7 separate regions of the Homo sapiens genome follow, and all the other regions are linked to region 5. Evidence: promoter capture Hi-C in 16 types of primary human blood cells and fetal thymus (Javierre and others, 2016). All regions are on one chromosome and are shown on one strand. Each heading gives the region's core, a stretch centred on a gene start or on the middle of the fragment in contact. The rest is flanking DNA. Distances are from core to core; before and after follow the strand shown. Region 1 has its middle 40 kb from the start of TRD-GTC1-1. Region 2 overlaps WASHC3 (WASH complex subunit 3). Region 3 overlaps PARPBP (PARP1 binding protein). Region 4 has its middle 15 kb from the start of GNPTAB. Region 5 holds the start of BLTP3B (bridge-like lipid transfer protein family member 3B). Region 6 has its middle 5.6 kb from the start of TMPO. Region 7 overlaps LINC02453 (long intergenic non-protein coding RNA 2453).

Evidence for each region. Contacts are between HindIII fragments. The CHiCAGO score rates a contact against its expected background, and 5 or more counts as called.
Region 1: a contact is called between a fragment that was not itself captured here and the fragment with the promoter of BLTP3B in region 5, in 1 of 17 cell types (M0 macrophages). The highest score is 7.0, in M0 macrophages.
Region 2: a contact is called between a fragment that was not itself captured here and the fragment with the promoter of BLTP3B in region 5, in 5 of 17 cell types (neutrophils, non-activated CD4 T cells, total CD4 T cells and 2 more). The highest score is 12.3, in neutrophils.
Region 3: a contact is called between a fragment that was not itself captured here and the fragment with the promoter of BLTP3B in region 5, in 1 of 17 cell types (activated CD4 T cells). The highest score is 8.5, in activated CD4 T cells.
Region 4: a fragment that was not itself captured here is called in contact with the fragment with the promoter of BLTP3B in region 5 in 1 of 17 cell types (neutrophils); the score reaches 9.9 in neutrophils.
Region 6: a contact is called between a fragment that was not itself captured here and the fragment with the promoter of BLTP3B in region 5, in 3 of 17 cell types (activated CD4 T cells, total B cells and naive CD8 T cells). The highest score is 6.3, in activated CD4 T cells.
Region 7: a fragment that was not itself captured here is called in contact with the fragment with the promoter of BLTP3B in region 5 in 1 of 17 cell types (neutrophils); the score reaches 5.6 in neutrophils.

What each region holds. Positions count from the first base shown.
Region 1 is chr12:98,462,322-98,465,647 of GRCh38, forward strand. No RefSeq gene overlaps it. Among named protein-coding and RNA genes, the nearest start is that of TRD-GTC1-1, 40 kb to the right of the region's middle. RefSeq lists a silencer at 1,408-1,781. The HindIII fragment of the contact is 1,744 bases long and covers 408-2,151 here.
Region 2 is chr12:102,054,650-102,058,414 of GRCh38, forward strand. The region is part of intron 2 of WASHC3 (WASH complex subunit 3); the gene reads right to left. Among named protein-coding and RNA genes, the nearest start is that of WASHC3, 5.5 kb to the right of the region's middle. The HindIII fragment of the contact is 2,843 bases long and covers 1,000-3,765 here.
Region 3 is chr12:102,122,347-102,125,791 of GRCh38, forward strand. It overlaps PARPBP (PARP1 binding protein), which reads left to right. Exons shown (of 11, transcript NM_017915.5): 2 at 1,540-1,695. The coding sequence starts at 1,543. Among named protein-coding and RNA genes, the nearest start is that of PARPBP, 3.9 kb to the left of the region's middle. The HindIII fragment of the contact is 1,013 bases long and covers 756-1,768 here.
Region 4 is chr12:101,843,846-101,847,220 of GRCh38, forward strand. No RefSeq gene overlaps it. Among named protein-coding and RNA genes, the nearest start is that of GNPTAB, 15 kb to the left of the region's middle. The HindIII fragment of the contact is 6,260 bases long and covers 1-3,375 here.
Region 5 is chr12:100,140,813-100,144,152 of GRCh38, forward strand. It overlaps BLTP3B (bridge-like lipid transfer protein family member 3B), which reads right to left and starts at 2,062. Exons shown (of 21, transcript NM_015054.2): 1 at 1,780-2,062. The coding sequence starts at 1,823. BLTP3B-DT (BLTP3B divergent transcript) reads left to right here and starts at 2,243. Exons shown (of 2, transcript NR_186018.1): 1 at 2,243-2,531. RefSeq lists silencers at 1,477-1,726, 2,047-2,226 and an enhancer at 1,607-2,370. The HindIII fragment of the contact is 10,318 bases long and covers 1-3,340 here.
Region 6 is chr12:98,508,128-98,511,903 of GRCh38, forward strand. No RefSeq gene overlaps it. Among named protein-coding and RNA genes, the nearest start is that of TMPO, 5.6 kb to the right of the region's middle. RefSeq lists enhancers at 242-785, 3,431-3,776. The HindIII fragment of the contact is 8,186 bases long and covers 1-3,776 here.
Region 7 is chr12:98,486,973-98,490,566 of GRCh38, forward strand. LINC02453 (long intergenic non-protein coding RNA 2453) reads right to left here. Exons shown (of 4, transcript NR_038383.1): 4 at 1-216. Among named protein-coding and RNA genes, the nearest start is that of TRD-GTC1-1, 15 kb to the right of the region's middle. RefSeq lists a silencer at 3,559-3,594. The HindIII fragment of the contact is 2,579 bases long and covers 992-3,570 here.

The sequences.
Region 1 (3,326 bases), core at 30-2,529, 1.7 Mb before region 5:
TTTGCCTGAGGTCAACTAACTGCTAAATGGCAGAGCCAGCCAAAGTTGTAACAAGACCTGCCTGACACCAAAGACCAAGTTCTTTCTCTTGTACCATTTAGGAACCCTCTTCCCCTTCCTGTGTTTCTACTTTTTTTTTTTCTGACAGAGTCTTTCAACCTCCCAGACTCAAGCGATCCTACCACCACAGCCTCTGAGTAGGTAGGACCACAGGAGCATACCACCATACCTGGCTAATTTTTGTTGTGTTTTCTGGTTTTGGGAGGTTTTTTTTGGTAGAGATAGGGTTTTGCCATGTTGCCCAGGCCAGTCTCAAACTCCTGGGCTCAAGCAATCCATCTACCTTGGCCTCTCCAAGTTCTGGGATTACAGGCATGAGCCACTGCTCCTGGTCTCTACATTTTTTAAGCTTTCACATAGCACAATACAGAGGTTAAGAACAAAAGCTCAGCCAGGCTTGGTGGCTCACGCCTGTAATCCCAGCACTTTGGGAGGCCCAGGTGGGTGGATTACCTGAACTCAGGAGTTCAAGGCCAGCCTGACCAACACGGCAAAACCCCATCTCTACTAAAAAATACAAAAATTAGCCAGGCATGGTGGCGCACACCTGTAATCCCAGCTACTAGGGAGGCCAAGGCAGGAAGAATTGCTTGAACCTGGGAGGCGGAGGTTTCAGTGAGCTAAGATCGCACTACTGCACTCCAGCCTGGGGGACAGAGCGAGACTCCATCTCACAAAAAAGAACAAAAGCTCCAGGCTGGGTGCAGTGGCTCACACCTGTAATCCCAGAACTTTGGGAGGCCGAGGCAGGAGCACTTGAGCCCAGGGGTTCTAGGGCAGCCTGGGCAGCATATGGAGACTCTATCTCTACAAAAAATTTTAAAATTTGCCAGGTATGGTGGTGTGCACCTGTAGTCCCAGCTCCCAGCTACTTGGGAGGCTGAGGTGGGACGATCTGCTTGAGCCTGAGAGGTCGAGGATATAGTGAGCCATGATCATGCCACTGCACTCCAGTCTGGGTGACAGAGCAAGACCTTTTCTCAAAAAAAGAGAGAGAGAAAAGAGTGCCAGCTCTAGGGATAGACTGCCTTGTTCGATGATCTTGAATGAACTATTTAATCTCTATTTACAAAATCTGGGACAAGTCACTTAACTTCATCAAGTCAGTTTCCCCATCTGTAAAATAAGAATTTTAATAGTAATATCGGCCGGGTGCAGTGGTTCATGCCTGTAATTCCAGCACTTTGGGAGGCTGAGGTGGGTGGCCTGAGGTCAGGAGTTCAAGACCAGCCTGGCCAACATGGTGAAACCCCATCTCTACTAAAAATTCAAAAATTAGCCAGGCATGGTGGCAGGTGCCTGTAATCCCAGCTACTCAGGAGGCTGAGACAGGAGAATTGCTTGAACCCAGGAGGCGGAGGTTGCAGTGAGCCAAGATTCTGCCACTGCCCTCCAGCCGGGGTGACAGAGCCAGAGTCCACCTCAAAAAAAAAAAAAAAAGGCATTTTAATAGCAATATCTACACTCAGGAGTTTCAGCGCTGATTAAATGAGATAACATCTAACACAGTGCCTAACCATTTGCTAGGAAACAGTAGATTTTAGCTCTATTATTCCCTCTCCATTTCACCTTGCTGGTTTCAGCCAAGTGCTTAGACTGGTCAAAGTAATTCTGAATCCCAGAAAATCCATGCAACTCCTGATGATCAAAAAATATTCTCTTTTAAGTGCTCACATATCATCTGCTTAGTAAACCATCCTAGAGTGTTTCTAGAAATTAACATTGAATTTACAAAGGTTTTTCCTACATCTAAGATAGAAGTCAGATTGTATCTAGAGTTCTTTCCCTCACTTTTATGAACTGTGACATGATCATATTGAAGAGGGAGAAATGAAGGACATTGTAACTCATTAAATGCATAAGACCCAGAAATAATAGAAAGTTGACTTCAGCTGTGATTCATCAGAGGTTCTTTGCATCAGTTCCTACCACTTTATCGCAATTCACTTCCCATATTGCTCAGCCCTATATATTTATCACTGGCAACCCACATTTGAGGCCAATGATTACAAAATGTTCTTTTGTACATCAACCCAGCTGCCAGGAGCCCACCCCCACCCCCACACTCAGCAGAGCTGGTTCAGATAACTAAGCTTTTGATATTTCAAGGCTGAAGGAAAAGGAACTCAATCCCCACATAAGTCCTGTGAGATATTTATTACTGTTCCCATTTTACTGCTGAGGAAGATGGGGCTTCTCAAGGCTATTATTCATATTTTATCCAAAGTCACAGAGTTATTAGGAATGCAGATCGCTGTTGACCTAGATCTCCCACCATGCCACTACAGGTTGAAGGAGCCACAGGCTGCAAACAGCAATGTTTTCCCAAACTGCTTATCCAGCCATGAACCACCCACAGCATTTTTGCAATATCTCCCTACCTCCTATGAAATTACTTACTTAATTTTTTTAATCAATGCACTTTTTGCTGCCTAAATAAATTTAGGGACTATTAGTCTAAACACTAGCAACTCAGAAATCACAGGTTTTATAACACCATCATGTTTATTTTGTGTAATATATTTTTAAATGGCCAGGCACAATAGCTCACGCCTGTAATCCCAGCAATTTGGGATACCAAGGCAGGAGGATCGCTTAAGGCAGGAGGATTGCTTGAGCCCAACAGTTTGAGACCAGTCTGGGCAACATAGAGAGACCCCGTCTCTACAAAAAAAAAAAAAAAAAAAATTGTTTTAATTAGCTGGGCATGGTGGTTCATGCCTGTAGTCCCAGCTACTTAAGAGACTGAGGTGGGAGGATTTCTTGAGCCTGGGAGGTTGAAACTACAGTGAGCCGTGATCTTGCCATTGCACTCCAGCCTGGGAGACAGAGTGAGACCATGTCTCAAAAATAAATAAATAAATGCATTAGATTCCTAGGGCTACCATAACAAATCATTACAAACCAAGTGGCTTAAAACAACAGAAATGTATTCTCTTACAGTTCAGGGGGCCAGAAGTCCAAAATCAAGGTGTTGATTTTCTGGAGGTTCTCAGGGAAAAATTGTCTGATGCCTTTTTCCTGGCTTCTTGGTGTTCTCGGCTTATAGGCATCATTCCAATCTCTATCTCCATAGTCACATGACCTTTTTCTCCCTGTGTGTCTTTGTGTCCAAATATCCCTCTTATTTCTTTTATAAAGATACCAGAGATCAAGATCCTTATTTAATTACATCTGCAAAGGCCCTATTTCCAAATAAGGTCACATTCTGAGGTTCGGGTTAGACATAAATTTTGAGAGGGAGATTATTCAACCCAGTATAAGTA
Region 2 (3,765 bases), core at 1,171-3,670, 1.9 Mb after region 5:
ATATGATATGCCACAAAACAAATTTTAATACATTTAAGGAGACTGAAATCGTATCAAGTATCTTTTCTGACCATATTGGTTTGAAACCAGAAATCAATAATAGAAGGAATCTTGAAAAAAATCATAAATAACTGGAAATTAAATAACATGCTCCTAAACAACCAATAGGTCAAGTAAATTAAAAACGAAATTAAAAGTATTTTGAGACAAATGAAAATGGACATACAACACATCAATACTTATGGGAGGTGGCAAAAGCAGTTTTAAGAGGAAAGGAAGCTTCGGCAGTAAAGACCTATAACAAAAAAGATGAAAGATCCAAAGTGTAACATCCTAGTGTTACAACTGAAGGAATAGAAGAACAAATAAAACCCAAAGTTAGTAGAAGGAAAAAAATAATAATGATCGGAACAGAAAAAAATGAAAGAGACTAGAAAAACAATAGAAAAGATCAATGAAACTAAGAGCTGGATTTTTGAAAAGAAAAACAAAATCCACAAACTTTTAGCTAGATTAAGAAAAGGAGAAGATTCAAATAATATCAGAAACGAAAGAGATGTTACAACTGATACCACAGAAATACAAAGAATTGGCTTTTTCAGCCACAGAGCTCAATGCAGCTCAGTGACGTTATAAATGCTAATGAACTTAAGGTCTGATGTGTGTTTGAAAGAATCAGCGAAGCTTTTCTTTTTTCTTTTGTTTTGTTTTTTTGAGATGGAGTCTTGCTCTGTCACCCAGGCTGGAGTGCAATGGCGCAATCTTGGCTCACTGCAACCTCCACCTCCCAGGTTCAAGTGATTCTCCTGCCTCAGCCTCCCAAGTAGGTGGGAATACAGGTGTGCACCACCACGCCCAGTTAATTTTTGTATTTTTAGTAGAGACAGCATTCCACCATGTTGGCCAGGCTGGTCTCGAACTCTTAGCCTCAGGTGATCTGCCCACCTGGGCCCAAAGTGCTGGGATTACAGGTGTGGGCCACCGTGCCCCACCCATCAAAGCTTTTCAAGTAGATAAGAAGTATCTGAATATGGGACCACTGATATATTCAGAACAGAAGTTTTTGCTTTCTTTGTTTCTTTCATGGTGGTAGCTGGGGTGAATTTTTAGATGGTCCCAATTTTCTACAGGAATGTTTAGATGAGAATTTTTTGTTTCTGTCCTGTGGTTGAGTTGGTGCCACAGAGAATTTCCATAAAATTCAATTCCATTATTTAAAATAGTTTTTTTTAACTAGTTTTTCTATCAACCAGCCCCAGTCTGAAACTTGACACAGTGTTAACACAAAAGAGCAAGTACTTAATCTTCGTTCACATACTCTACCTACAAAGACATGACCTACAGTAGTTCTTCAAGCAGGTCAGTTTTAGGAGACGTTAATTCTATCTAACTAGACTAGCTATTTCACAACTATGTAAGACAACTTTATAAACTTTGCTTTAACTTACAAAGGTCATTTAATAATCCCATTGTTTTGACGATTCTAAAGATTGTAAGTTTATTTTTACAGTCTACTCTTAAATATTACTGTTGAGGCATATATATGGCAATGGTGGACTTAATTCTGCCTAAGATATCTGAGCATCTGTAGTAAAATATGAAGCTACCTTCATTTGGTTGATATGCTAAAGACATTTTTAAAAGTATCTCATTTTTTAAAAACTTGGTTTGTGTGTTTTGTATGCTCAGGAATTTTTCCACAGTACTGGAGACCATTGCAGTGATTAAATTTGGCCCTTTTGACAGAAAACAGAACAATGCATTCCTAGGGATAAAAAAGGGGTGACTGCAAAGGAGCATGAGGGAATTTTTGGAGTGATTCTATATCTTGTTCTACAACTATTCTACATCTTGATTATGGTATGATTATGCATTTGTCCAATCTCATACTTAATGGTAAATTTTACTGCATATAAGTTCATACTCCAATAAACATGACTTTACAATTAAAACAAAAGAAATATGAAGGCTCATAAGAGATTGCTATGACCAATTATATGCCAACAGATTGGATAACCTAGAATGGATAAGTTCCTAGACACATACAACCTATCAAGACTAAATCATAAAGAAATAGGTAATCTGAACAGACCAATAATAAGTAGAGAGATCAAATCAGTAGTTAAGTCTCCCACTAAACAAAACCCCCAGGACTTGATGCCTTCACTACTGAATTCTACCAAACATTTAAAGAAGAACTAATACAAATCCTTCTCAAACTCTTCCAAAATACTGAAGAGGAGGGGAAACTTTCGAACTCAATTTAGGAGGCCAGCATTATCCTGATTCCAAAGCCAGACAAATCCACTACAAGAAAAGAAAATCAAAGGTCAATATCCCCAGTGAACATAGAAGCAAAAATCCTCTACAAAATACTGGCAAGCTGAATACAACAGCGCATTAAAAAGGTCATTCACCAGGATCAAGTCAGATTTATCCCTGGGATACAAGGATGGTTCAACATATGCAAATCAGTAAAGGTGATACATCACATTAACAGAATGAAAGACAAAAACCGTATGATCATCTCAATAGATGGAACAAAGGCATTTGACAAAATTCAACATCCTTTGATGATAAAAACTCTCAACAAATTAGGTATAGAAAGAATCTAGCTCAACACAATGAAGGCCATTTATGACAAGCCCACAGCTAGCATCATACGCAATGGTGAAAACTGAAAGTTTTTCCTCTAAGATGAGGGACAAGACAAGGATATTCACTCTTACCCCTTCTATTCAACATAGTACTAGAAGTCCTAGCTATAGTAATTAGACAAGAGGGAAAAATAAAAGGCATTGAAATTGGAAAAAAGGAAATGAAATTGTTTCTGTTCGCAGATGGCATGCTCTTATATATTGAAAATCTTATAAAAAATTCCACCAAAAAATTGTTAGAACTAACAAACTACTTTGGTAAAGCTGCAGGATATAAAATCAACATACAAAAATCAGTAGCATTTCTATACACTAAAAGTAAACTATCTGAAAAAAAAGAAAAAAAATCTCATTTACAATAGCTACAAAAAAAATACATAGGGGTAAATTTAACCAGTGAGGTGAAAGATCTGTACACTGAAAACTATAACACATTGATGAAAAAAATTGAAGAAGACACAAATAAATGGAAAGATAACGTGTGTTCATGGATTGGAAACATGAATGTTGTTACAAGGTTGACACCACTCAAAGCAATCTACAGACTCAATGCAATCCCTATCAATTTTCCAATAATATTTTCACAGTAATAGAAAAAAAAATCCTAAAATTCATACTGAACCACAAAAGACCCTGAACAGGCAATGCAATATTAAGCCAAAAAAACAAAGCCAGAGAGATCACACTCTCTGATTTGAAAATCTACCACAAAGCTACAGTAATCAAAACAGCCATAGACCAAGGAAACAGAATAAAGAGCCCAGAAATAAATCCATGCATTTAAAGTCAATTGATTTTTGAGAAAGATGTTAAGAACACAGAAAAGACAGTTACAGAAACATACTTTTCACAGATGTTAAGAATAACAGTCTCAATAAATCATTTTGGGACAACTGGATATCCACATGCAGAATGAAATTAGACCCTCATCCTTTACCATATAAAAAAATTTAACACGAAAAGGATTCAAGATTTAAATGTAAGACCTGAAACTGTAAAACTACTAGAAGAAAACATAAGGGGAAAGTTGCACGACATTGGTCTGGGCAATGACTTTTTTTGGATATAAACCCCAAAGCACTGGTAACAAAACCAAAAATAAATAAAT
Region 3 (3,445 bases), core at 12-2,511, 2.0 Mb after region 5:
ATAGATTGTGTCTATAATTTAATTATATTGCAAGTGGCATGTATCTTTGCTCTTGATTATACAAACCAAAGTAAACATCTAGGATTCTGTTTATGCCACATAAAAATAGAAGAAAAGGATAGCAGAAGGAGTCAGGAAATGGAATAAGTACAGGAAAATACCCAAAATAAGATGATGGGCATGTGAGTATGTTGAGACTTGAGTACTTAAAGTAGGAAAAAAACTTTTAGCAGGCATGTCTGTAAACTCAGAGAAAGGAATTGGATGCCTTATATAGTCTTGGGTATATGAAACATTGGCACTACCTCAAATTATTTTGAAAGGCTTTTGTGTGCATCAGGAGAAGTTACTTAACATGATGCTTTAAGAACACAGCTTATAGAGTTAGACATATTAAGTTTATGCTGTTTGTCCACTTACAAGCTGAGTGACGTGGAGGTTATTAGGTAAAATAAGGATAATAACAGACCTGTCTTATTGGACACTTATGACAGTCGAGTGAGGTAATCAATATTAAGCTTTTGAAAAGTATCTCCACCAAGTTAGCTCCTAAATATTAGTTATTTTATTGGTTATGTAGTACGGTGTAACAAACCATTTCAAAAGTTAAGGTTTTAAAATAACCATTTCCTTCTGATTCTGTGGATCAGCAGTTTGGGTGGGACACTGCTTGGTGATACTCTAGTGGTCATACAGGACACAATTCCTCCTGTTGTAATAGGTGGTGACAACACATGTGAAATGTCTACCAGGGAAGCTTATTAGAGACTTAATGCCCAGGGTTTTTATTGGGGGCTAAATGCAAAGGCATCCACTGTCTGACATGTACCAAAATTCCAGACTCGCAAGTGTTTAGCATAAACTATATTGTTTGTATGAACAGTTTAGCACAGTGAACCACTCTTACTGGAAACACTCCTGAAATCTAAGCTCCCAAACTGGACTCCAGCTTCAAAGGAGAGCATTCAGGCCTATTGTATTAGTACTTCTGCACACACCACTTAAGGCCTAAGCTCAGAACTCCCACAGCGTCATTCTTGCCACATTCTATTGGTTAAATCAAGTCACAAGCCTGGTCCAGATTCAAAAGGGTAGAAAAATAGGCCACCTCTTTTGGGACAACGTAGGATGGGAGGAAATTGGCTTTTTAGGTTTTTTTTTTTTTTTCCCAATTTATCAGACTTATTACCTATCTCAAAACAAATATATATATTTAAATACAGCTTTAATTAGGTATATTTGTAATTATAAGTTTGCAGTAAATTTGCATGTCTGTTTTTGTGTGAATTTTCAGAATTGAAGGCTACATTTTGTTCTTTCAGAAGGTTTGGCTTAAGAAACCAAAGGGGAGGGAAATATGATTGCGCAGAAATTGTATTATTTTGTTTTCCTAAATTTAATTAAAAGCAATCTTGGTAAATATGAAATGACCTCTCATTCACTATATGTTTTTCTCTATCTGTGCTTGCCTATACATGTTAAATGTTAATTTCAGGTTAACATAAGATACTTTAACTTTGTATTCTGTCCTACTTTAAGATAATGGCTGTGTTTAATCAGAAGTCTGTCTCGGATATGATTAAAGAGTTTCGAAAAAATTGGCGTGCTCTTTGTAACTCTGAGAGAACTACTCTATGTGGTGCAGACTCCATGCTCTTGGCATTGCAGCTTTCTATGGCGGAGAACAACAAACAGGTTGGTAAACTATATTTGGGTTAACTTGTTTTTTTAAAGCAAAATTTCATTGCTGCCCATTTGAATAAACTTAAGCTTAAGAATATTAATTTCTTTACATTATGTGCCCTTCTGTGATAATACACCATTTTCACAAATGCCTCTGTGTATCTGTGTCAGAATGTTATGATAGAATTTGAAATGAATTATTTCAAAATTAAGCTCTTATGTATGGTTATACACGGGACATGCATATTTGATGTTTAATAGGAAGATTTAGGATAAACATGTAACTATTATTATTGTGGTCAAATTATTTTTATTTAATAAGACTTTTTTCATTCCCTAAACTTTTAAAAACTACTGGCTCTTGTACCCCAATCCTGGAAATTCTTCCAATCTGCACCGGGATACTGGAAACTGCCTTTAAAAAATTTCCACAAAGTGATTCTTACTTAGGTAGCTTGAGCCAAACTAGCGTTTGGATTTAAGCCGTAGATTAAGGGTTAGAGGTGTTCAGATGAGAGAAGGATGAATGTAGGATAGAGTGGTAAGGAAAGGCTTTGTGATATTAGATAGATTTTAGATAAAGGAAGAGAAGGCTGTAGAGGAGGTATGATGAGGAAAGTCAGTTCAGAAGAAGGGTTCAGGGGAATCAAAGTCATGGTATGAACTTGGCAAAGATACTGGCTTGACTAGAGAAGAGGATTTTTGAAGGGTAGAATTAGCTTCAATGGGTCTGTTGGGCTAGATATTGAAATGACATTCTGATGAGTTATTTTAATTTTATATGTCAGTAGTTTCCAGATTTTTAGATTCCATAGACAGTAAAATTTCTAAAAAATTATTAGACACTGACAGATTTTAACCATTTCTCATTTTTGCAAATAAGGCCATTGAGAAAAAATAGTTACTATATACTATGATCATCATTTTGAAAAAGGAAGAATATTTTAACACTTAAAAATTAAAAAGTATAAAATCTTAAAACAGGGATAGTGTTTTCTACCTGTGAATAGTTGGCAGTTTTGCATATTTTAAACAATGCATGTTAAGATAAATTTTGAATCTCGAAAACAATGACAAAATGTTATTTTATTTTATGTAGTCAGTCATTTTTTGAACAAATATTGAGTTTTTACTGTGTGTTAGACATCATTGTAAAAATTGGGAATACAGTAATGAAAGAAGTCACTTCTTATGGAGTGAACCTTCTAGGGAGAGATAGCTAGTACTGTAAGATATTTAGTCTTTTAGGACATAATAAATGCTATTAATAATAGTGTTATTAATATGTACATAATAAACATACAGAAAACAATAAAACATGCGACTAAGGAATATGCAGATTTTGGGGTGAAAGGGTTGTTGGAATTTGAAATAGGGTGGTCAGGGAAGGCCTCACCTGGAAAGTACCATTTGAGCAAAGATTTGAAACAGGGGAGGGCATTAGCCATGGGGATTTTTATGGGAAGGGACTACCGCAGGCAAAGGGAGGAGCAGGTGTAGTGGCCCTGAGGTGGCTCTATGCCTGGATGTTCCAGGAACAGTAAAAAGGCCAATACAGCTGTCTGAATAAATGTTAATCTCCTTCCCTCCACTAATTACTTTTTTCTCTTTTTCTATTTTTGAGCTTCTACTATAAGCCAGGCATTGTGATATATGTTGGGGTTAAAACGGTGAGCAAAACTAGACTTGACTCCTGCCATCATGAAACATATTACCTAGTAGATAAGGCAGACATTATGTAGAGGATCATACAAATACATGT
Region 4 (3,375 bases), core at 451-2,950, 1.7 Mb after region 5:
TTTTGGTTTATCTTCTCCTTGACCCTCCTGCAGTATTGGATGTCTTCAATAATCTTTTCTTGAAATGTTGTCTTACTTTGGTGTCCAGGACAGAATACGTTTCTGATTTTTCTGGAAGATCTTTGATGACTTCCTTTTCTGGGTTGTAGTCTACCTCCTGCCGTTTCTAGGTGGTGGTTCAGTTCACATAGACTAGACCTCTGCCCTCTGCTTTACTTCTACATTTTATTTCATGGCAACTATAATGTCTTCAAGAAAATTTCTAGATTAGCCAGGTGTGGTGGTGGGTGCTTGTAGTCCCAGCTACTCAGGAGGCTGAGGCATGAGAATCTACTGAACCTGGGAGGCACAGGCTGGAGTGAGCCAAGATTGCGCCACTGCACTCCAGCCTGGGGGACACAGTGAGACTCCATCTCTAAAAAAAAAAAAAAGAAGGAGGGAAAAAAAGAAATTTTATAGAAGGCAGTGAGATATCTGATGATGTCATCAAGAAACTGGTGTTATGTAAGCATGGTGAGAGCTGGAGCCGTGGGAAGGAAACTAAATGACAGGCCCTACCATAGTGGAGGGATGCAGCACTGTGAGAAGGGATGCAGCTAGGCAGGAGAGAAACACCCCTTTGATCTCTTCCTGGTGCCTCCCATTGGTTGAAACCAGAGGTTAGGAGAGTCTGTGTAAAACCGTCCATGTGGTCAGCAAAGGGTATGGGAATGAATCTGGGAGCAAATGAAAACTAGCCAATACATTCGGGGTCTAAAGCAAACATCTCACCATCTCACCGTGTTTTTTTTTTTTTGAGTCAGAGTCTTTCTCTGTCATCCAGGCTGGAGTTCAGTGGTGTGATCTCGGCTCACTGCAGCCTCCTGCCTCCCAGGTTGAAGCAATTCTCCTGCCTCAGCAACCCGAGTAGCTGGGATTACAGGCACACACCACCACACCCGACTAATTTTTGTATTTTTAGTAGAGATGGGGTTTCATCATGTTGGCTAGGCTGGTCTTGAACTCCTGACTGCAAGTGATCTGCCTGCCTCGGCCTCCCAGTGTTGGGATTATAGGCGTGAGCCACCACGTCCGGCCCTCACCATCTTTTGTGCCTAAATCATCTCCCTGTTTTAACTTCTGTGCCTCCATCAATGGCACCATTACTCTCCCAGCCTCTTAAGCTGGAACCTCAGAAATCACTCCAACTCCCTTCATGGATTTTTTTTTTTCCTGTTAGTAAATTCTTATCCCTTATTTGGCATTACCCATCTCATAGGATTGGACTGTTGAATCCTCTATAAATGTGAGACTTCACAATTTCATGGTACTTAACATCACGGTTTAATTAAAATCCTCATGTGTGTACTTATCTCTTGAATGAGCATTTTCAGGGCAGGGTCTGTGCTTCATACTTCAAATCCTCATTGTGCCCCTCAGCATTCTGTCAGGGTAGGGACTCAGCAACGCTTGTAAAATAAATAAATGAATGATCTGTTCACGGTGGACATGGGCCTACAACTTGCCTGAATTCCTTGTCCAAATGACAGAATATGGCAACAGAGTCAACACATTTCACTAGTAAGTGGCAGCATCCACAATGATAACTTCCAAAGATGTTCAACACCAGCAAGCACATCACTGCGACTTCAGTAACCATAGTAACAAGACTACAATAAGATCATAACCAGCTAGTCAGACTAATCTCTTTCTAGTGGAAATGACCAGTGAATTACTTTCTGTGTGGACTGGGTTACTCTAAAGAAGATTCTTTCTTTCTTGCTTGCTTTCTCTCTCTCTCTCTCTTTCTTTCTTTTCAGGATCTCACTCTGTCACTCGGGCTGGAGTGCAGTGGTGTAATCATAGCTCACTGCAGCCTTGAGGTCTGGGCTCAAGTGATCCTCCCACCTCAGCCTCCTGAGTAGCTGGGATGACAGGCAAGCACAACCATGCCCAGCTAATTAAATTTATTTATTTTTTTTGAGAGATGGGATCTCAGTATGTTGCCCAGGCTGGTCTCAAATCCTGGCCTCAAGTGATCCCCCATCTCAGCTTCCCAAAGTGCTGGGAATACAGGTGTGAGCCACTGCACTTAATAATTTCTTTTTTTTTTTTAATTTTAGGGTAAATAGAGATGGGGTTTTGCTGTGTTGCCCAGGTTGGTCTCAAACCCCTGAGTTCACCTCAGCCTCCCAAAACACTGGGATTACAAGTGTGAACTGCTGCACCCAGCCCAGCCGCAGGGTCTCACTCACTCTGTCACCTAGGCTGGAGTGCAGTGGCACGATCTCGGCTCACGGCAACCTCTGCCTCCCGGGCTCAAGTGATTCTCCTGCCTCAGCCTCCTGAGTAGCTGGGATTACAGGCACATGCCACCATGCCCAGCTAATTTTTGTATTTTTAGTAGAGACAGGGTTTCATCATGCTGGTCAGGTTGGTCTTGAACTCCTGACCTCAAGTGATCCACCTGCCTCGGACTCCCAAAGTGTTGAGATTACAGGCGTGAGCCGCAGAACCTGGCTAAAAATTTTACATAAATATAGTTGAGAATCAAAAAAACCTACTGCTAATAGTAAATATTTGCTTTCATGTATGATTGAAATGCATTTTAATATTCTTTTTGTTTTTAAAGTTTAGTTTTATTTTCTTAAACTATTATATTCTTAGTACAAAACATGTAAAAGAAGACAAAATCTCCTATAGCTCTCCCTGCTGCTTGTTTTCTCTGTAAATGTTTCACCTTTGTTTTGTCTTTTGTAAACTGACCTCAATGTTATATTGTTCTGGCTGGGCATGGTGGCTCATGTCTGTAATCCTAGTACTTTGAGGCCGGGCGCGGTGGCTCACGCCTGTAATCCTAGCACTTTGGGAGGCCAAGGCGGGTGGATCACAAGGTCAGGAGATTGAGACCATCCTGGCTAACACAGTGAAACCCCATCTCTACTAAAAATACAAAAAATTAACCGGGCGTGGTGGCAGGTGCCTGTAGTCCCAGCTACTTGGGAGGCTGAGGCAGGAGAATGGCGTGAACCCAGGAGGCGGAGCTTGCAGTGAGCCGAGATGGTGCCACTGCACTCCAGCCTGGGCCACAGAGCGTGACTCCGTCTCAAAAAGAAAACAAAAAAAAACCCTAGTACTTTGGGAGTGCTAGGCTGAGGTGGGAGGATTGCTTGAGGCCAGGAGTTTGAGACCACCCTAGCCAACATAGCGAGACCCCATCCCTAGAAAAAAAAATTATATTATTCTAAAACAATTCATACTCATAAAAATAAAAGCAATTAAAAGTGCATAGAGTAAAAAGTTAAAGACTTCCTTCTCTCCAAGGCCTTGTTCTCCCTCCTAAGGAGTTAGCTATTGTATTGTTCCAGACAATTATTTTCTGTAATGTAGTTGCTT
Region 5 (3,340 bases), core at 812-3,311:
TCATGCAGTAAGCCATTACATCTTTGTTCTTAATTTTTTTTATTATACTTTGGTATGCATGCTCTTAATTTTTAAGAGCCCCTCTCAAATGGAGTTCTATAAAAGAATTAAACTCTAATGCACTATCTGTTGATTGAATTAACTTTTCTTCCAAGCATCTAGAGTGGTACTAGCTATGCAGCATCATCCTTGGACGAGTGAGAAAGTAGGCATTCAAATCATTTTCTGCAGATCTGTATTTTCTTGTGGAGCTGGGTATGAGAAAGGCGGGAGGACATAAATTAAAAATAGATAAAACCTTCCAAAATAAGATAGTTCAAGATTGGGCCATATATATAATTTTAAAAGAAACTTTTCAATGAGTGATAACATTAAGAAATACATATTCATGCAGGGCGTGGGGGCTCACACCTGTAATCCCAGCACTCTGGGAGGCCGAGGACCGCGGATCACCTGAGGTTGGGAGTTCAAGACCAGCCTGGCCTGGTGAAACCCAGTCTCTACTAAAAAAATACTACATATATACACATATATATGTGTAGTGTATACACATATATATGTAGTACACATATATATGTATGTGTATATATGTGTATATATGTATATGTATATATGTACATATGTATATATATGTACACACACACACACACGCTGCTATACTTTGCTACTTTTAAGAAAAGTGCTATATCTTATTCAGTATTATAAGTGAGGAAAATATTTGCTGAATCACAGAAGTAGAATTCTGTTCCCAATATATAACCTGTGGTATAAGACAATCTGGGGAATCAAGAATTATGTTTACTATACAAGTCTATAATCATACCCGTGTCTTCCCAAAATTAGTTAAAATTAACTTACAAATCGAACAGAAAGGGATCCTAACCAAGGGCTTTGAGTTCGCTGGTAACAACTTGGAACAAGAGCCTACATTTAGCCTGTGTCTTGAGACAAACACGGAGAAGCCAAGAGCAGTAACAAACTGCCAGCCTTACTGAGTCATGTTTCTGACTAAAACCGCGTTATGAAATGGAGAGAATGACATGTCTTGGGTTTAATCACCACAGATGTTAACTCCCTGAATTTTAGAGTTGCAGAGGAAAAAGAGCAAAAACCAAAAAAAAAAAATGTTCAGTAATAATGATGTGGGTCTCATAGGACTCCAGAAAGAACCTGCCAAAGCTGCGAACTCTGCTTATTTACCTAAAACAAATCCTAACTGTGCAAACAGGCACACCCTCTGATGCCACAGAGCGGGAACGCCAAGGTGGGAGGAATTCAGAACAATCACAAGGTTAACGTTCCACTGAGAACACAGCCTCCACTGAGCGTCCACACTGCGCCAGAAGCCCTCGGTTAACGGAACCGCTCTGCTCCAAGGGGAAGGAGCACCGAACTCGAGTTAGAGCCCAGCACATTAACCAGGCACTTGGGTGACGCCAGGCCACCTCCAGCCTCCGCTCAGTACCGCACAGAGCCGAGCCGGGACGCCCCCAGACGCCGCGCCGGGAGCGATCCCAGCCCGCCGCGCTCCGCACTCCGGGCTCCTCCGCGCGCCCACCCTGGGAGAAGACGCGTCAGGGGCCGATTCGTGAGGCCAGCCCCCGGCGCCGCCGGCGACAAGAGATCCGGGGCCGCGACCTCTGCCCCGGCCAGAGCGGGGAAGTCCGAAGGTCGCCTCCCGCACAGCCGCCAGGCGCCGCCGCCCCCGAAGCCGCAGGCTGACTCCAGTGCGGGCTGGGGTGGAGGCCGACTGGCGCCGACACCGAGGCGCTCACTGACCTGGAGAGGTGCTTCAAGATTTGTTTCTTGATGATCCCGGCCATGGTACCGAGGCTGGAGACGCCGCGGTCTCGTCCTGTTGCTCACTGCCTCCTCTCTTCGTGGCCGTCTCCTCTCTGTCCCGGCTAGCCCGGCCGGCGGAGAGGCGCTGATCGCTCACGACCGGGAGAGACCCAAGGCCCCGGCCAAGGCCACAGCCGCCGCCGAGAACCCGGAGCATCACGCTCAGGCCGCCACGGCCGCCGCGGGCGCCATCTTGGCTGCAGCATCACCTAAGAGACTCGGTGGAGGGCGGGGGCGGGGCGGCTCCAGGCGGGGCCGGCACGAGGCGGGGCGGGGCCAACGCCGGCTCTGGGCGGGCTCTGGGCGGGCTCTGGCTGGGCTCTGGCTGGGCTCTGGGCGGGGGCGGGAGGTTTGTGGCATTGGCGCCAGGGTTCTTAGCCCTCGCGACACAGGGCCCTTGACTCTCAATACACCATCCTTCTTGGCCTTAATCCTCCCTCCTTCCCTCTGCTGGTGTTCCCGCCTCCATCGCTGACCCGTCGCTGATTTTTACTTCCACGTCCTACTTCCCTTATTCATTTCCTCAGAATGTTTTTTATTTTTTTGCTTGTTTGTTTTTTTTTTTGAGACAAGTCTTGCTCTGTCACACAGGCTGGAGTCCAGTGGTACGATCTCGGCTCATTGCAACCTCCACCTCCAGGGTTCAAGCGATTCTCCTGCTTCAGCCTCCTGAGTAGCTGGGATTACAGGTGCGCACCACCACGGCCGGCTAATTTTTGTATTATTAGAGACGAGGTTTCACCATATTGGCCAGTAGGTCTCGAACTTCTCACCTCGTGATCCACCCTCCTAGCCTCCCAAAGTGCTGACATTACAGGCGTGAGCCACTGCACCCGGCCTCCTTAGAATGTTTTAAGAATCGGCCATTAACTCCTGTGCTTGCTTTGCTCTCTTGACCTACTCACCTTTCTTCATATTCTTCCTTAGGTTTTTGTTTTTGGTGTTTTTTTTTTTTCTTTTGTTAAGGTGTCCTGCCTTTCCCTTACCTAAATGTGGCAATTTAATGTTTCCTTTGGTTATTGCTATTCTAAGGGAAGTAAAGGTTGACAATGGTTCCTAGTAGTCTAGGACCTAGGAATTAGAAGGTGTATAATTCAAGTCCTGGCTCTGGTATTTTCTAGCTGTGTTATCCTGGGGAAAATAATTTCTTTACTATTAGTTTCATTTTAATCATCTGTGAAATAGATTAATCATCAGCCTTACCCACTTCACTAGGTTGAACCTAAAGGTGTAAATATCATATGAAAAGTTCTGTAAGGAAGGAAGGAAATTGTTGAACTAGGGAAAACTGTTACAATTCTACACCTCCACCCCACCCAATCCCAAACAGAGCTAACATTTTCAGAGATTAAAATGACGACTTCTGTCATCCCAGCACTTTGGGAGGCCGAGGCAGGCAGATCACTTGAGGTCAGGAGTTCAAGACCAGCCTGACCAACATGGTGAAACTCTGTGTCTACAAAAAAAAAATACAAAAATTAGCTGGGCATAGTGGCGG
Region 6 (3,776 bases), core at 42-2,541, 1.6 Mb before region 5:
GGTGGGAGTGTAGCAGTGAGGACAACCAGAGGTCACTCTCATCGCCATCTTGGTTTTGGTGGGTTTTGGCAGGCTACTGCAACCTGTTTCACCAGCAAGGTCTTTATGACCTGTGTCTTTTTTTTTTTTTTTTTTTTTTTTTTTGAGACAGAGTCTCACTCTCGCCCAGGCTGGAGTGCAGTGGTGCAATCTCAGCTCACTGCAACCTCCACCTCCCAGGTTCAAGCAATTCTTCTGCCTCAGCCTCCTGAGTAGCTGGGACTACAGGCACGCGCCACCACGCCCAGCTAATTTTTGTATTTTTAGTAGAGACAGGGTTTCACCATGTTGGTCAGGCTGGTCTCGAACTCCTGACCTCGTGATCCACCTGCCTTGGCCTCCCAAAGTGCTGGGATTACAGGCGTGAGCCACCGTGCCCGGCCTATGACCTGTATCTTCTGCCGACCTCCTATCTCGTCTTGTGACTTAAAATGCCTTAACTGTCTGGGAATGCAGCCCAGTAGGTCTTTTCTTTTTTTTTTTTTTTTTTTTTTGAGACGGAGTTTTGCTCGTTGTCCAGGCTGGACTGCAATGGCGCGATCTTGGCTCACTACAACCTCCGCCTCCCGGGTTCAAGCGATTCTTCTGCCTCAGCCTCCTGAGTAGCTGGGATTACAGGCATGTGCCACCACGCCCAGCTAATTTTGTATTTTTAGTAGAGACAGGGTTTCTCCATGTTGATCAGGCTGGTCTCAAACTCCCGACCTCAGGTGATCCACCCACCTTGGCCTCCCAAAGTGCTGGGATTACAGGCATGGGCCACCGTGCACGGCCTTACCCACCCTTTTTTCAACATGGAGGTGCTGTGATTCAAACCCCTCTAACATCAGGACCCCAAAAATGACTAAGCCAAAGGGAAAGTCAAGCTGGGAACTGCTTAGGGCAAACCTGCCTCCCATTCTACTCCTAAAAAAAAAGATAGCTACTAAGATAAAAAAGCTATATATACCTCCCTCACAATTTGACCACAAAGAAATTCCTTGTGGACAAAGGACAGATAGAGATTTAAAAAGTCATCCCTCTGCTCATATGAGATAAATGCATATCTGATTGCCCTTTTGTTTCCCTAAGCCAGACTAACATAAGTGACTATTCCTGTAAATAGTGTATTCAGTGAAAGGCTAATCAGCAACTCAAAAGAATGCAACCATTGGTCTTTTATCTACCTATGACCTGGAACACCCCGGAGCCCCCCAACCCCCACTTGTATTAATAGCTGTCCCGCCTTTCTGGATGGGACCATTGTACATCTTAAACATATTGATTGATGTCTCATGTCTCCCTAAAATGTATAAAACCAAGCTGTGCCACACAACCTTGGGCACATGTCGTCAGGACCTCCTGAGGCTGTGTCATGGGTGTGTCCTTAACCTTGGCAAAATAAACTTTCTAAATTGATTGAGACCTGTCTCCGATTCTCTTGGTTTACAGAGCGATGTATTCTGGACGAACTAATAAAATTGAGCTTTTGGACACGCAGAATTGAAATGCAGACCTGAATTCTGATAAGCCAAATGGTTCTCCAACTTAGCACTCTCACTTAAAAAGAAAAATATGGTTTTAAAATCATATGTGTTCATTGTGGAAATCTAGGGAAATACAGACATATAAATAAAAAGAAAATAAGAATCACCTGTGCCTCACTATCCAAGAGAAAGTACTCCACTTTGATGTATATTATTTTTTTTCTTTTCTTTTCTTTTTTTTTTTTTTTTTTTTGCCTCCCCAATAGCTGGGAGTACAGGAGCACACCAGCATGCCAGCTAATTTTTTTTTTTTCTTTTTTTTTGAGACTGAGTTCCGCTCTTGCCCAGGCTGGAGTGCAATGGCGAGATCTTGGCTCACTGCAACCTCCGCCTCCCAGGTTCAGGTGATTCTTCTGCCTCAGCCTCCCAAGTAGCTGGGGATTACAGGTGCCCACCACCACACCTGGATAATTACTGTATTTTTAGTAGAGACAGGGTTTCGCCACGTTGGCCAGGCTGGTCTTGAACCCCTGACCTTGGGTGATCCGCCCGCCTCGGCCTCCCAAAGTGCTGGGATTACAGACGTGAGCCACCGTGCCCGGCCCCACCTAATTTTTGGTTATTTTTAGTAGAGACTGGGGTCTCCCTATGTTGCCCAGGCTGGTCTCAAACTCCTGAGCTCAAGGGATCCTCCCACCTCAGCCTTCCAAAGTACTGGGATTATAGGTGACAGCCACCAAGCCAGCCTCATATTCTTAAATGTCAAAACATGATTTTTTACTACTGTGCATTATTTTGTCATATGGATATATCATAAACAACCAATTCCTTACTATTGGAGATAGAGATTTTTTATTTTTTTCACCATTATAAATGAAGCAATAAATACCTTTATAAATGAATTCCACATTTGATTTTATCTTTAGAATAAATTATCAGAAATGGCTTAAGGGAGCTAAACTTTTTTTTTTTTTGAGAGACCGAGTCTCGTTCTGTTGCCCAGGCTGGAGTGCAATGGTGCCATCTCAGCTCACTGCAACCTCCGCCTCCCGGGTTCAAGGGATTCTCCCACCTCAGCCTCCCAAGTAGCTGGGATTACAGGCGCATGCCACCAGGCACGGCTAACTTTTGTATTTTCAGTAGAGAGGGGCTTCCACCATGTTGGTCAGGCTGGTCTCGAACTCCTGATGTGATCTGCCCGCCTTGGCCTCCCCAAGTGCTGGGATTACCGGTGTGAGCCACCGCTCCTGGCCCCTCTTATTATTTTTTTTTAAGATGGAGTCTTGATCGGTCGCCCAGGCTGGAGTGCAGTGGCACGATCTCGGCTCACTGCAACCTCTGCCTCCCGGGTTCAAGCGATTCTCCTACCTCAGCCTCCCTAGTAGCTGAGATTACAGGCGCCCACCACAAGGCCCAGCTAATTTTTTAATTTCTTGGCCAGGCTGAGCTCGAACTCATGACTTCAAGTGATCCGCCCACCCCAGCCTCCCAAAGTGCTGGAATTACAGGCATGAGCCACGACGCCCGGCCGAGAACTAAACATTTTTTAAGGTTTTTAGCTTCTTACTATTTTACATCACTTAAAGTGCAACTTACCCTCCTGTTTGAGGTGACACCCTTAAATTCACAACCAATCCTCCGCAAAATGGGATAATGAAAAACAAAGCCAGCTGTATGTTAATAATATTAAGAACTTCAAAAAAAGAATGGAGGCAGTTATCCAGGTGATTTTTGTTTGTTTGTTTGTTTTGAGATGGAGTTTCGCTCGTGTTGCCCAGGCTGGAATGCAATTGCACGATCTCGGTTCACCACAACCTCCGCCTCCCGGGTTCAAGTGATTCTCCTGCCTCAGCCTCCCGTGTAGCTTGGATTACAGGCATGCGCCACCACGCCAGGCTAATTTTGTATTTTTAGTAGAGACGGGGTTTCTCCACATGGTCTCAAATTCCCGACCTCAGGTGATCTGCCTGCCTCAGCCTCCCAAAGTGCTGGGATTACAGGCGTGAGCCACCGGGCCCACCTCCAGATGATTTTTTTTTAAGTTATGGGAAAGTTTTCTGATTTAAAAAAAAAAAAAATTGCATCAGGCCAGACGCAGTGGCTCATGCCTGTAATCCCAGCAATTTGGGAGGCTGAGGCGGGTGGATTGCCTGAGGTCAGGAGTTTGAGACCAGCCTGGTCAACATGGTGAAACTCTTGTCTCTACTATATTACAAAAAAATTAGCTGGGCGTGGCAGCAGGCGCCTGTAATCCCAGCTACTTGGGAGGCT
Region 7 (3,594 bases), core at 1,031-3,530, 1.7 Mb before region 5:
TAGAGAAAAGATACTCAACCTCTTTAATAATGAGGAAAATATAGAAACAAATCAATAATAAGATGCCTTGGAAGGATTTGAAAGACAGGAATGATAGGTTCAGAATGGTTTCAAAACTTGTCCAACTTTTCTAACATGGTGATATCTGTGTAAAAAAAAAAAAAAACTTGTCCAGCTTTGATTTGAAATTGTAATGCAGTCTTCTGGATGTATCTCCTGAAATAGAAATGATGAAAACATCATTGTTGAATTGAGGAAAAATGGTGTTATACTAACAAATTTCAGCTCTTACACCCAGCACAGAAAACTAGAATAAAAAAAAAAAAAAACTAATATTAGAATCATTATTCATACCCTTTTGCCTGGCAGTCAGTTTCCCAGCCTCTGTGTGGCCCAATAGTGGTTAATGAAACAGGAAAACAACTGTCAGGATTTCCCTGGAAAGGCTTTCTCCCAGTAAAAAGGGACATTCAAAAGTATAGTGTGCTGGAGCTGCCTCTTCCCTCATGTTCCAGCCTTGAAACTGGCCATGATGGCTGCAGCAGCTACTTTGCAGACATGAAGTGACAATCATGAAAAGAAATGTCCTTTTGCTAAAGGTAGCAGAGAAGAAAGACCCAGAACAAGAAGAGAGTACTCAAAGCCTATGATGGCCTTGTTGAGCTGCCAGACCAACCCCAACATCACTCAAGAGAATTGTTGTGAGTTAGAAATGGGAGAGAAGTTGGGCATGTGTTTCATGCCTATAATTCCAGCACTTTGGGAGGCCGAGGCAGGCAGATCACTTGAGGCCAGGAGTTCGACACCAGTCTGGCCAACCTAGTGAAACCCTGTCTCTACTAAAAAATACAAAACTTACCCGGGCATGGTGGCATGCCTATAATCCCAGCTACTCTGGAGGCTGAGGCAGAAGAACTGCTTGAAGCCGAGAGGCAGAGGTTGCAACAAGCTGGGATCACGCCATTGCACTCCAGCCTGGGTGACAGAAAGAAGCTTGTCTCAAAAAAAAAAAAAAAAAGAAAGAAAAGAGAAGAAAAAATGGGAGAAAGACTTTCCTCTCCATACCTTATACCTCCTGGTATCTGGTACTTTTTGAACTTTGTTCTGTGTGCATGAATTGCCTATTCAAATAAAACTGTAATGCCTGAGGTTTTTTTGTTTGTTTGTTTGTTGTTGTTTTTTTTTGAGATGGAGTTTCACTCTTGTTGCCCAGGCTAGAGTGCAATGGTGTGATCTCGGCTCACTGCAACCTCTACCTCCCAGGTTCAAGCAATTCTCCTGCCTCAGCCTCCCGAGCTGGGATTACAGGCGCATGCCACCATGCCAGGCTAATTTTGTATTTTTAGTAGAGATGGGGTTTCACCATGTTGGCCAGGCTGCTCTCGAACTCCTGACCTCAGGTGATCTACCCGCCTCAGCCTCCCAAAGTGCTGGGATTGCAGGCATGGGCCACCACGCCTGAGATCTTATCAATCAAGTATTTAAACCAAAAATATTTTACATCTACATTTTTTTAGTGGAAATACAATTTTAAAAAGCACAGTTTAGCCAGGTGCAGTGGCTCACACCTGCAATCCCAGCACTTTGGAAGGCTGAGGCAGGCAGATCACCTGAGGTCTGGAGTTCAAAACCAGTCTGGCCAACATGGCGAAATCCTGTCTCTACTAAAAATACAAAAAAAAAGAAAAAAAAAATCAGCCAGGCATGGTGGCGGACGCCTGTAATCCCAGCTACTCGGGAGGCTGAAGCAGGGAGAAATGCTTGAACCCGGGAGGTGGAGGTTGCAGTGAGCCGAGATCGTGGCACTATACTCCAGCCTGGGTGACAGAGTGAGACTCGGGCTCAAAAAAAAAAAAAAAAGGCACAGTTTGAGGGTGGGGGCTCGCACATGTAATCCCAGAACTTTAGAAGGCTGAGGAGGGAGGATCTCCTAAGCCCAAGAGACCAGGCTGGGCAACAAAGTGAGATCTCATCTCTATAAAAACCAAACAAAACAGTCTGGTGAAAAATGCGATAGAATGAAGTATATTATAGACAAAAGGGACCTTCAGTATCAACTCTCACATATTGATTGTCGATGAAGAAAAGAGTCAAACTCTGTAAAATATTTGAAGAGACTTATTCTGAGCCAAATATGAGTGACCATGGCCAGTGACACAGCCCCAGGAAATCCTGAGAACGTGTGCTCAAAGTGGTCGGACTACAGCTTTTTATTACACATTTTAGAGAGACAGAAGACATCAAAAAATACATGTAAGATGTACATTGGTTCAGTGAGGGTGGATGGGGCGCTTCTACATCATGAGTGAATTCAAAGATTTTCTGATTGGGAGTTAGTTGAAAGAGTTTATCTAAAGACCTGAAATTTATAGAAGGGAGTGCCTGAATTAAGATAAGGGGTTGCGAAAACCAAGGTTCTTGTTATGCAGATAAAGCCTCCAGGTAGCAGGCTTCAGAAAGAACACATTGTAATTATTTCTGGGTCTCACTCCATCACCCAGGCTGGAGTGCAGTGGTGCAATCTCAGCTAACTGCAGCCTCAACCTCCCAGGCTCAAGCCATCCTCGCACCTCTCAGCCTCTGGAGTAGCTGGGATTACAGATGCGCGCCACTACGTCCTGGTAATTTTTGTATTTTTAGTAGAGACAGGGTTTCACCGTGTTGCCCAGACTTATCTCGAACTCCTGGGCTCAAGCAACCCACCTGCCTCGGCTTCCCAAAGTGCTGGGATTACAGGAGTGGGCCACAGCACCAGGTCAGATTGTAAAACTTTTAATTTTTATTTATTTTTTTTATTTTATTTTATTTTATTTTATTTTTTGAGACGAAGTTTCGCTCTTGTTGCCCAGGCTGGAGTGCAATGGTGTGATCTCGGCTCACTGCAACCTCCACCTCCCAGGTTCAAGTAATTCTCCTGCCTCAGCCTCCCAAGTAGCTAGGATTACAGGCGCCCACACCCCCACCCCATGCCTGGCTAATTTTTGTATTAGCCAGAGATGGGGTTTCACCATGTTGGCCTGGCTGGTCTCGAACTCCTGACCTTCAGGTGATTCACCTGCCTTGGCCTCCCAAAGTGCTGGGATTATAGGCGTGAGTCACCATGCCCAGCCAAAAATTTTATTTTTTACCTTTTTAAGGTGCAAGACTCTCAGTAAATTCTCTCCTGGTTAAGGAAAAATATCTGGAAAGGGAAGGGGATTCTCTACTGAAAGTAGATTTTCCCCACAAGAGACACCTTTGCAGGGCCATTTCAAAATGTGTCAAAAATATATATATATTTTTTGGGGTAAACTACTTCAATTTACTTCAGGGCCTGCTGTCTGTCATGTTGGTATCTTACTGCTACAAAAAGCCTTCTTTGTCAGACTTATGTTAATGCTGGTCAGATGTGCCTGAATCCCAAAGGGACTCTGTCCCAAAGGGAGGAGAGTATAATGAGGCTTGTCTGACCACCTGTTCCCATCATGACATGAACTAGCGTTTCAGGTAACTTTGGAATGCCCCTGGACAAGGAGGCATCCATTCAACTGATTGGGGAGCTTAGAATTTTATTTTTGGTCTACATGGTAAAGCTTAAAGTTGCGGAAATCATTA